Regions from separate parts of the Homo sapiens genome. Here region 2 is linked to region 1. Evidence: promoter capture Hi-C in human tissues and cell types (Jung and others, 2019). All regions are on one chromosome and are shown on one strand. Each heading gives the region's core, a stretch centred on a gene start or on the middle of the fragment in contact. The rest is flanking DNA. Distances are from core to core; before and after follow the strand shown. Region 1 holds the start of SCN8A (sodium voltage-gated channel alpha subunit 8). Region 2 overlaps SCN8A (sodium voltage-gated channel alpha subunit 8).

Region 1 (4,709 bases), core at 1,440-3,939:
TATGGGGACAACTATATATCTATGCAACAAAACAACAAAAGAACTTCAAACTACATTTCATACCACATACAAAAATCAATTCAAAATGGATTATAAACCTAAATGTAAACTCTAGAACTATAAAATTTCCAGAAGGAAACATAGGATAAAATATTTGGGGCCTTGTGTTGGGCAAAAACTTATTAGACATGACATTAAAAGCATGATTCATAGAAGAAAAAATAATAAACTGAACTTCATAAAAATTAAGAAGGTCTAATTTTTTTTTTTTTAAGAGACAGGTTCTGGCTATGTTGGCCAGGCTTGAGTGCAGCAGCTATTCACAGGCCCAATTATAACACATTATAGCCTCCAACTTCTGGCCTCAGGAGATCCTCTTGCCCGAGCCTCCCGAGTAGCTGGGACTACAAGTGTGCACCAGGACAACTGGCTGAAGAACCTCTGCTTTTGGAAAAACACTGTTAAGAGAGTAAAAAGAATAAAAAGATAAGCCTAAACTGGGAAACAATATTTGCCAATCACATGTCTGACAGAAGATTTGTATCCACAATATATAAACAACTCTTTAATTTTTTTAAAAAAATTTTAGAATCAGAGTCTCCTGTGTTGTCCATGCTGGACTTGAAATCCTAGGTTTAAGCAATTATTCCTGCTCAGTGTCCAGAGTAGCTGGGACACCAGGCATGCGTCACTGAGCCCAGCCAGGATATATAAACAACTCGTAAAACTCAATTAACAAGAAAAAACCCCACCAATTTTTAAATAGGCTAAAGACTTGAAGAGACACTTCGCCAGGAGGATTTACAGATGACAAGTCCATGAAAAGATGTTCAACATCTTTAGTCACTAGTGAAATGGACGACAGACCCACAGCGAGATAAAACTACACATCTATTCAAATGGCTAAAATTAAAAAGACTGATCACTCCAAATGTTGGTGAGGATGTAGAACAACTGAAATTCATGTGCTGCTAGTAGGAATGGAAAGGCACAACCACTTTGGAAGGCAGTTTGGCCCTTTCTTAATATGTTAAATATACACCTAAGACAGGACTCAGTTATTCCATTCCTAGATATTTATACCCACGAGAAACGAAAGCATATATATCCATACAAAGACCTGCACACGAAAGCTCATAACAGCTTTGTTCGTAACGGACAAACATTGGAAATAACCTAAATGTCATCAACAGGTGACTGGATAAACACATTGTGGTGTATCCCCATAAAGAATACTACTAAGCAGTAAAAAAGAACTCTTGATAGGCAACGACTGAATAATCTCAAAACGATTATGCCGAGTGGAAGAAGCCATACAAAAAAGAGAGTTTGTACTGTATGATTCCATTTATTTAAAATTCCGGAAAATGCAAACCAATGTACAGTAATAGAAAGAAGATCAGTGGTTGCCTGGAGAGGGTGTGTGGGGGCGAGCGATGCAGGGAGTGATTACAAAGAAGCACACGGAGAAATTTTTGGAGGTGATGGGTGTGTTCATTACCTTGGTGGTGATGGTTTCATGAGTGCACACATAACTCAAAATTGTACAATCTAAACACACGCAAATATACCCCAGTAAAGCTAATTTTAAATGTATTGTAGAGGGCACATTATGTGATAAGCATACCATGTGCCTGGCTGTGTTAGCAATGTGTGAAGTGCATGCTCCCCGTTAGTACAAACAAGAAGTTTATAAGGTTGCTACTGTGACTGTTTCCTTTTACAGACGAGAACACTGAGGTTTGGAGAGGTTGTTACACCCTTTTTCCCTCTTGTGATTGGTGGTAGGAAAATATTAAGTAGAGGAGAGACACAGTAAAGTGCCAAGAGCTCTGGCACTCATTACCTAGATCCTCGCGAGGGTGGAGTGAGCGGTCGAAATGCTCATGCCTACTTTACAGATGGACAGACTGAGGATCGGAAAGACTGAGGTGGCCTGGGGGCTGTCAGGGAGGCAGCGCCTCCCCGCTCCTGGCAGCAGGTCCCTGTGGGCTGAAACACGAGCCTCCACCTGCCGCTGATTGACTTCTCGTTTTTTCAGTGGGCCCAAGATCCTGTAAATTGAGTTCCCTGCGCTTTTGGATGTCAGAAACTTCACTGAGCGCGGCACTGTTGGGGGGCAGGAGAAAGGTAAGACTTGGCACTGACGCGGGCCACAGAGCACGCGGGTCACCACGACAGCTTTCGGGTCTCGCCGCCCGGCGCTGGCGAGCAGCCAGCCAGCGTCTCGCGGCGGGTCCCGGTCCTCAGCCCGCGGCCCCTCCCGGCGGCTCGGCGGGGGCGTAGTGGAGGCGGGCCCGGGGACGCTCGCTGGCGCTCCCGCGCGGCGCCCCCTGCCGGCGCCCTGTTCCCTCTTGCCCCTGATCCGCTCCCGGCGGCGCGGAGACGCGAGTCTGAGAGCCTGCGGGCGGGCGGCGCGCTGCAGGCGAGCGGGCGAGCGGGCGCGCCCTGCAGGGGTAGGTGGGCCGCGGGGGCGCGGGCGGGCGGGCGCGAAGCGCAGGGAGGGGGCGGGGGCGGTGGCAGCGGCGCTTGCGGGCCGGGGCCGGCCCGGGCAGGGGGCGCGCGCGGAGGGGTAGGCGCGGGGGCGGGGCGGGCGGGGGGCCCGGCAGTAGGGGCGCGCGCGCGGTGGCGCGCGGCGGGCGCGAGTCATCAATTATGCAAGGACTCGGGCGGTGCGGGGGGCGGGCGCGGGGAGCGCTCCAAGATGGCGCCCACCGCAGTCCCGCCCGCCGCATCCTCGGCGCCTTTGCAGTCCGGCCGCGCCTCCCGGGCCCCGCGTTAGGGCCGCCGCTGCCTCCCTCGCCGCCGCCGCTGCCGTAAGTCGCCCCAGAGCCCCCGCCCTAGCGCTGCTTCCTGCCCTCCGGGTTTCCCTTCTCGCCTCGGGACCCTTGAGCGGGGCTCGCCCATCTCCAGTCAGGGGCTTTGCCGCAGAGTGCGCGGCGGGGCTCCAGGGGCCGTGGAGCTGGGGCTCTGCTCTCCTTGTTTTGGACAGGTGTTTGGAACTCTTGCTTCCTTCTACTGTGTGTACCGGGGGTCTCTTAAGAGAACTGAGGACCACCAGTCCCCACCCCGGACACCCTGCTTTCTCCGTCTCGGCTACAGTGAGGGACACGGCCCGTCCTTGGTGCCCCTTCCGCGGTGCAGCCCTCCATCCCTCCCTCAGTGCCGGGCAGAGTTGGGGCCCCTAGCCGGCTTGCACTGGGAAGGGCAGCGCTGTCGGGATCTTCCTACAGCAGCCCCTCAGCCCTCCCCCTCCCCCATGTCTTACTGCATCCTTCTCCCTCAGCCGGCTTCACACTGCTAAAAACTGCAGAAGCCAAGGGCTCCTGGGTTCTTCCCGCAGCCAGCACTCCCGACTCCCTCTGTCCTTTACTCGGATGCGTTCGTCCCCCTCCCAACAGGGTGCTCTGGAGTTGTGATGGGGGCTCCCGGGACCTTCCTCGGCAGGCGAGGATTCCTGCATTTGGAAGCACATCACTTTGAGAATATCCCCTTCCCCCATCCCACCCCCACCCCCACCCCCCACCCCCACGCCACCCGATGCAGAGCTTGTTCCTCTCCTCTCCCTCCCCCACCTTACCATCAGCAGCAGCACCCTTGGCTTCTTGTTAGCGTTGGGGTACAGGACTGTTTGCCCAGCTCCGTGGGCTTGGACCCTCCTCTCTAGTTCTCACTTGGTACCTTGGGGCACCGCAAAGCCTCTGCAGTTTCTCCTGAGAGCTCAGCTCCATCCCCTCCATTGCCAGCAACAACCACCGGTGGAGACTTGGCTAACTTTCCAGGGGTTAGCCAGGACTGTCAGACCCTTTCAGGGGCCCCAGCTTCGAGTTGGGATGGAATGGGAACCATTTTTCAGCCCGATAAATAGGATTCTTCAAACCATGCATTCCATCCGACTACTCCACCCTATGCCCTCTTCCTCACTTACACTGCAGTTTTTGAAGCATGAGGGAATACATTTTATGTCCGGAGATTCCAAGGTTCTGCATCAGCGTTCATAATAAATGGATGTCATCTGTTTGGGGGGAGGGTAGAAGAAACTTTGGATTGCATCTGGCTAAAGTCAGGGGGAGGGAGAAATAATTAGCATGGAGCAAGCTCTGCCACACAAGGAAAACTGCTTTTTATGCACAGTGGGCACCAGAGAGTCAGGGATGGAAGCAGGAAGTGTGGGTGGGGGCCATGGGGGTAAAGGGGGAGAGTGCTTTTTATAACTGTTTTCCCAAGTTTGAACCTGGAGAGCCTTTAGAGAGAGGTAGCAGTGTGTTAGGGCTGGGGGATGTTTTAGCTTTCCAATGGAGATTTCGGGTGTGGTAGGTTTTTCACTGTCTCAAAATCCCTCTGCACTTCTCTTTTCTCCACGTGCATTAGAAGATGTGGAGGGGGGGATGTTGTGCTTTTATTCTTTTCTCAAAAAAAATTTTTTTTTTGATTTGTGATGCAAATGGCTGGATAACATTACCACACGGTACCATCCTGGTAGGAATCTTGGGGGAATCAGACTTAAAATGCTGAAAGCTTTATAGCACATTACATGTAACCTGGTTCTTGAAATACTGCAGCATTTTTCTTTGGAGCTCATGACCCATAAGGCCTTCATTTCTCCCTGAAAGAGGATTTGGTTGCTGGTTGGTGAGGTGGTGGTTGTGGGTAGTGATCCTTTGGTGTTCAGCACGCATTCCCTGTCCTAGAAATTGAGGTCCTCCCTG
Region 2 (4,709 bases), core at 858-3,357, 200 kb after region 1:
GCTGGATGGACATCATGTATGCAGCTGTAGATTCCCGGAAGGTAAGGATGTACATGGCGAAAATACCACCTTCTCAGATGGCTGGAAAGCAAGCAGCATGGTATACCGAGCCCACCAAGAAAGAGGAAGGGATGAAGGAATGGAGGAGTTGACGTTTCTCTTTGGAACATTTATTGCTTGTGTTATTGATTATAGATCATTTTCCTCGTCTCAGTAAGTCATCACTCTCTTACATTGGCCCCCGATGATTAGACTGTTGATTTTTTACGTGGCCCCAGTGAAGCTGTCTATGCTTCAATCCTGCTTCATAGCAAAAGTATGGCTCCTAGCAGACAGCCCTCCCTCCCTGTGGCCTCATGATTTGCATGTTCTCCACATGAGTCAGAGGACGACTAGTGTCCTCTCAAGGCAGGCCATGCCAGTGTAGAGAAGGAGGCAGGCAGAAAGAATCTAGGGCTCTCCCACCCCAAGATGTTTAGCAGCTCAAATGGTCACAGTTACGGCTGATGGCCTTGGCGTGTCAAACTCCAAACTAGGAGCTGATTCTCTTCCTTTTATCCTGTCCTTTGACAGCCTGATGAGCAGCCTAAGTATGAGGACAATATCTACATGTACATCTATTTTGTCATCTTCATCATCTTCGGCTCCTTCTTCACCCTGAACCTGTTCATTGGTGTCATCATTGATAACTTCAATCAACAAAAGAAAAAGATAGGTCTCCTCCCCTCATTGCCAGTGGTTGGAAGTCAGCCCAGATAAGAGGCACCTTTGTCCCTATCTCTAGAAAGAAAATGTCCCTCTTTCTTTCTCTAAAATCTATATTGTTAGCTCACTGTGACCCTGGCCCCCATACGTTAGCCCCAACCCACTCTTTCTGTTCGGGGCTGGATTTTGCAGCATGTAGTTTACCACACTTACTAGCAGTCTTTTATTCTTGAGGCCTATTACTGGTCTTGGTCTCCCACCAGAAGCAGGTAGGTCAGAGAGTGCAGTCGAGCAACAGAGATGAAAAGGAAAGAAACAGATGAATAGCTATCGCAAGAAGTAGAAACTGTCTAGACTTGTGATTATCTAGTCAATCTCTGAGCACAAGCAAATTGGGATTTGAGAGACCCACCTTTGGAAAGTTTACTTCCTTACTTGTTCTAGATGGTTAACAAGTTTTACAAAGCAAATTGAAAAAATTGCTCGTTGCTCATTTTGTAAGTCAAGTCTATCCCAGCATACTCCAAGACACCCTCCAAATTGCTTTCTTGCACCAGAATTTCCAAATTTTGGGTATCATCTAAAATAAATTGGCTATCAGCCAGGACACAAAGATCTTTTTATTCTAAAATGTGTTTTCTAGAATGTATCAGGAAAGCTGGCCCCCAGAAAATGAGACTCTGAGATATGACTGCCTTCAGAGTCACTGCTCTCAAGTTTACCCTTTCTGAGGGTCTATAATTGGATAGTCCATTTCCTTTCTACCTTGGGACTGGAAGATCTTAGAAATCCTGAGCTAAAAACAAAGGCAGGTATCTCTTTAGAGCTGAATGATTATCGCGGGTCTACCCCACTCTGGGACAGCTATTAGCTACAAAGGAAAGGGATAGGTCTCCCCTCAGTTCTCAGTATTGAACCTTAGGTCCAAACCCATAGCATGTTGAGAGCCAGTTGTAATTGTCTGTTTTCTTCTTCCCTCCTTTACTTCGGAGGTCAGGACATCTTCATGACCGAAGAACAGAAGAAGTACTACAATGCCATGAAAAAGCTGGGCTCAAAGAAGCCACAGAAACCTATTCCCCGCCCCTTGGTAAGTGCATTGTGCAGGCTGAGGCCTTGGTGAGAACCCATATAGGAAAAGTACTAGTAGAGTTACTGCAAAGGAAGGAAAAAGGTAAGTGATTGGCTGCTTTGTGCCTAATCCTCTCCTCACCACCCATCCAAAAGATCTGAATAGGACAGCAGAAGAACAGGGATTAAGGCATGGGGGCTTTTACATCAATCCTCGACCTATCCTCTGAGCCTTCCTTGGGCAGCCACCAAGAATCAGCATGTGAACCACATTGGCTTTGGCCCTAGTAGAGAGATGTTTTTAGAGACAACCAAAAGTCAACAAGAGAAAATGAAATAAAGTTGCTCTCTTTCCTGCCAGTTCAAGATAGGATTTGGTCATAATTTTTTCAGCTTCTCTCTGCTCAATAAGGATGTCTTTGCAGGATGTATCTAGAAGTTAAAATCATGCTTCTGGTTATTTGTGGGAGCAGAAGAGGGTAAAACTATGGGAGTCTGGTGCCCTGATTGCCTCTCTTGAGCTGAGCCTTTTATAAAACAGATTAGGGGGCTGAGATTCTGCTCCATTGTTCCATTGGTGATGGTTGTCTTGTTTCAGAGAAGGAGAAGGAGATACCCTGCTCCTGATTCCATATATCCGGTTGGATGGGACATCACCCCCAAAAGCCAGGCCCAAAGTTCCTTCTTCTGTAACTTCCATTTAGCAACTTTAAAAAACAGACACAACACCACCAAAAAAACCCAGCAGAACCTTTAATACAAAAGCTTCCCTGATAATCTAATTTGTAGAAATAAAAGTAGAGTGACTATGTTTGAATCAAGAGTTATAGTTCCAGAACGTTTTCTCCCCTCACCCCCACACGCCGCACGTGGTACATCTACCGCATCAACTTTTGAAGGAAAAGAAATTCTAGGGCTTTGCAGGGCAGATTGAAAACCACCAAGTTAAAGTAATCCTGGAAATAAGCACCAGCCCAAGTATCTCAGTACTTCAAACAAACAAACAAACAAAAAAGCAAGGAATCTCAAGAAAGAGAACATTTGGGGTTTTTTATTTCCTTGATGTTAAGCCTTCATTTTGTGATAGAAATGGGACTAAAGGGAATAGAAAAGGGTTAACATTTCTAAAGTTCTGTTTAGTACTTTCCATATGGGAACCTGAGTGTATTTTCTTCCACATTAAAATATAACTTCCAGCCTAGGCAACATAATGAGACCCCATCTCTACAAAAAAATTTTGTAAAAAGTAGCTGGGCGTGGTTATGTGTACCTGTGGTCCTCACTACGTAGGAGGCTGAGGTAAGAGAATTGCTTGAGCTTGGAGGCCAAGACTGCAGTGAGCCATGACCGTGCCACTGTACTCCAGCTTGGGCAATAGGGAGGGACCCTGTCTCAAAAAATACAAAATAAAATAAAATATTTTAAAAAGTAGGAAACATTAATAAAGAGTGATTAACATTCATTTAGCAAATATTTATCAGTCTTTACTATGTACCGTGCACTAAGCATTATGTGATGAACAAAAGGTAGACTGCTGTCATGGAGCTTATAATAGTTGGGGAGATAGATAATAAATAAGTAAGCAAACAGCTACAATAAAATGTGGAAGATTGTAGGAAAAAAATTAACTAGAGGGCTATAAGTGGTGGATCTACTTTAATATAGTAGTCAGAGAAAGCCTCACTAAGGAGGGTCTACTTGAGTGGATGAGAAGGAACTGGCTGGGCACGGTAGCTCATACTGTAATCCCAACTTGGGATCTAGAGGCAGGCAGATCGCTTGAGCCTAGGAGTTCTAGACCAGCCTGGGCAACACAGTGAAACCCCATCTGTACAAAAAAAAAAAAAAAAATTAGCCGAGCCTGGTAGCATGCCTGTAGTCCCAGCTACTGAGAAGGCTGAGGTGAGAGGATGGCGTGAGTCCAGGAGTCAGGGCTGCAGAGGATATGGTAAGCTATATCATGCCACTGCACTCCAGCCTGGGGAAGACAGCGAGACCCTATCTCAAAAAAAAAAAAAAAAAAAAAAAAAGATGGAACCAAAGAGCTGGGGAAAGAGATTCCTGGCAGAATACACAAGACCCCAGAAGCAGAAAACAGTGTGGCCAGGGGGTGGCGAGCCAGAGGAGGGACATTGATGAGCAGAGTCAGACTGTGCCAGGTGTCTCCCCGTAAGCCAGGTTAACAAATAGGGATTGTGTTGCAAGCCCAGTGGGAAGCTCTTGAAAGGTTTTAAGTAGGGGAATGATGTGATCCATTTGTTTTTTGTTTTATGTTTTGAGACAGAGTCTCTCTCTGTTAACCAGGCTGGAGTGCAGTGGCGTGATCTCGGCCCACTGCAACCTCTGCCTCCCAGGTTCAAGCAATTCTCGTGCCTCAGCCTCCCGAGTAGCTGGGACCACAGGCGCCTGCCACCATGCCCGGCTAATTTTTGTATTTTTAGTAGAGACAAGGTTTCACCATGTTGACCAGGCTGGTCTTGAACTCCTGACCTCAAGTGATCAATTTTGGGAGGCCTCGGCCTCCCAAAGTGCTGGGATTACAGGCGTGAGCCACCGCACCTGGCCATGATCCATTTGTTTTAAATCATTACACTTGCTATTATATGAGGACTGCATTGGATGAGGGCAAGAGAAGAAGTGGGAGACCAGTTAAGTGGCCATACAAGTCCAGATGAGAGATGATGGTGGCTCAGGTTAGCATAGAGCCAATAAAAATGGAATGAAGTGGATGAACCCAAGTTATAATTTTGGAGGAAGAATCAACAGGCCCTTCAGTGGATCAGATGAGGGAGAAGAAAGAGACAAAGATGATGCCCAGATTCCTGGCTTGAGAGCCTGGATGAATAATTGAGATGAGAGGAACAAGCTGGGTGAGGGGCAGGGAACAGACTTGGCTCTGCTTTGGACTTAACTGTGAGAGGCTTGGACATGGT

What was found. The method cuts DNA at HindIII sites, captures the fragments that hold promoters and counts their contacts. A contact is called where the count stands out against the background at its distance.
Region 2: a fragment that was not itself captured here is called in contact with the fragment with the promoter of SCN8A in region 1 in 3 of the 25 tissues and cell types used here (IMR-90 fibroblasts, dorsolateral prefrontal cortex and small bowel).

The regions. Positions count from the first base shown.
Region 1 is chr12:51,588,544-51,593,252 of GRCh38, forward strand. SCN8A (sodium voltage-gated channel alpha subunit 8) reads left to right here and starts at 2,690. Exons shown (of 27, transcript NM_001330260.2): 1 at 2,690-2,816. RefSeq lists a silencer at 2,193-2,442. The HindIII fragment of the contact is 14,911 bases long and covers 1-4,709 here.
Region 2 is chr12:51,788,708-51,793,416 of GRCh38, forward strand. It overlaps SCN8A (sodium voltage-gated channel alpha subunit 8), which reads left to right. Exons shown (of 27, transcript NM_001330260.2): 23 at 1-41; 24 at 574-711; 25 at 1,691-1,795. Among named protein-coding and RNA genes, the nearest start is that of TMDD1, 24 kb to the right of the region's middle. The HindIII fragment of the contact is 7,053 bases long and covers 1-4,709 here.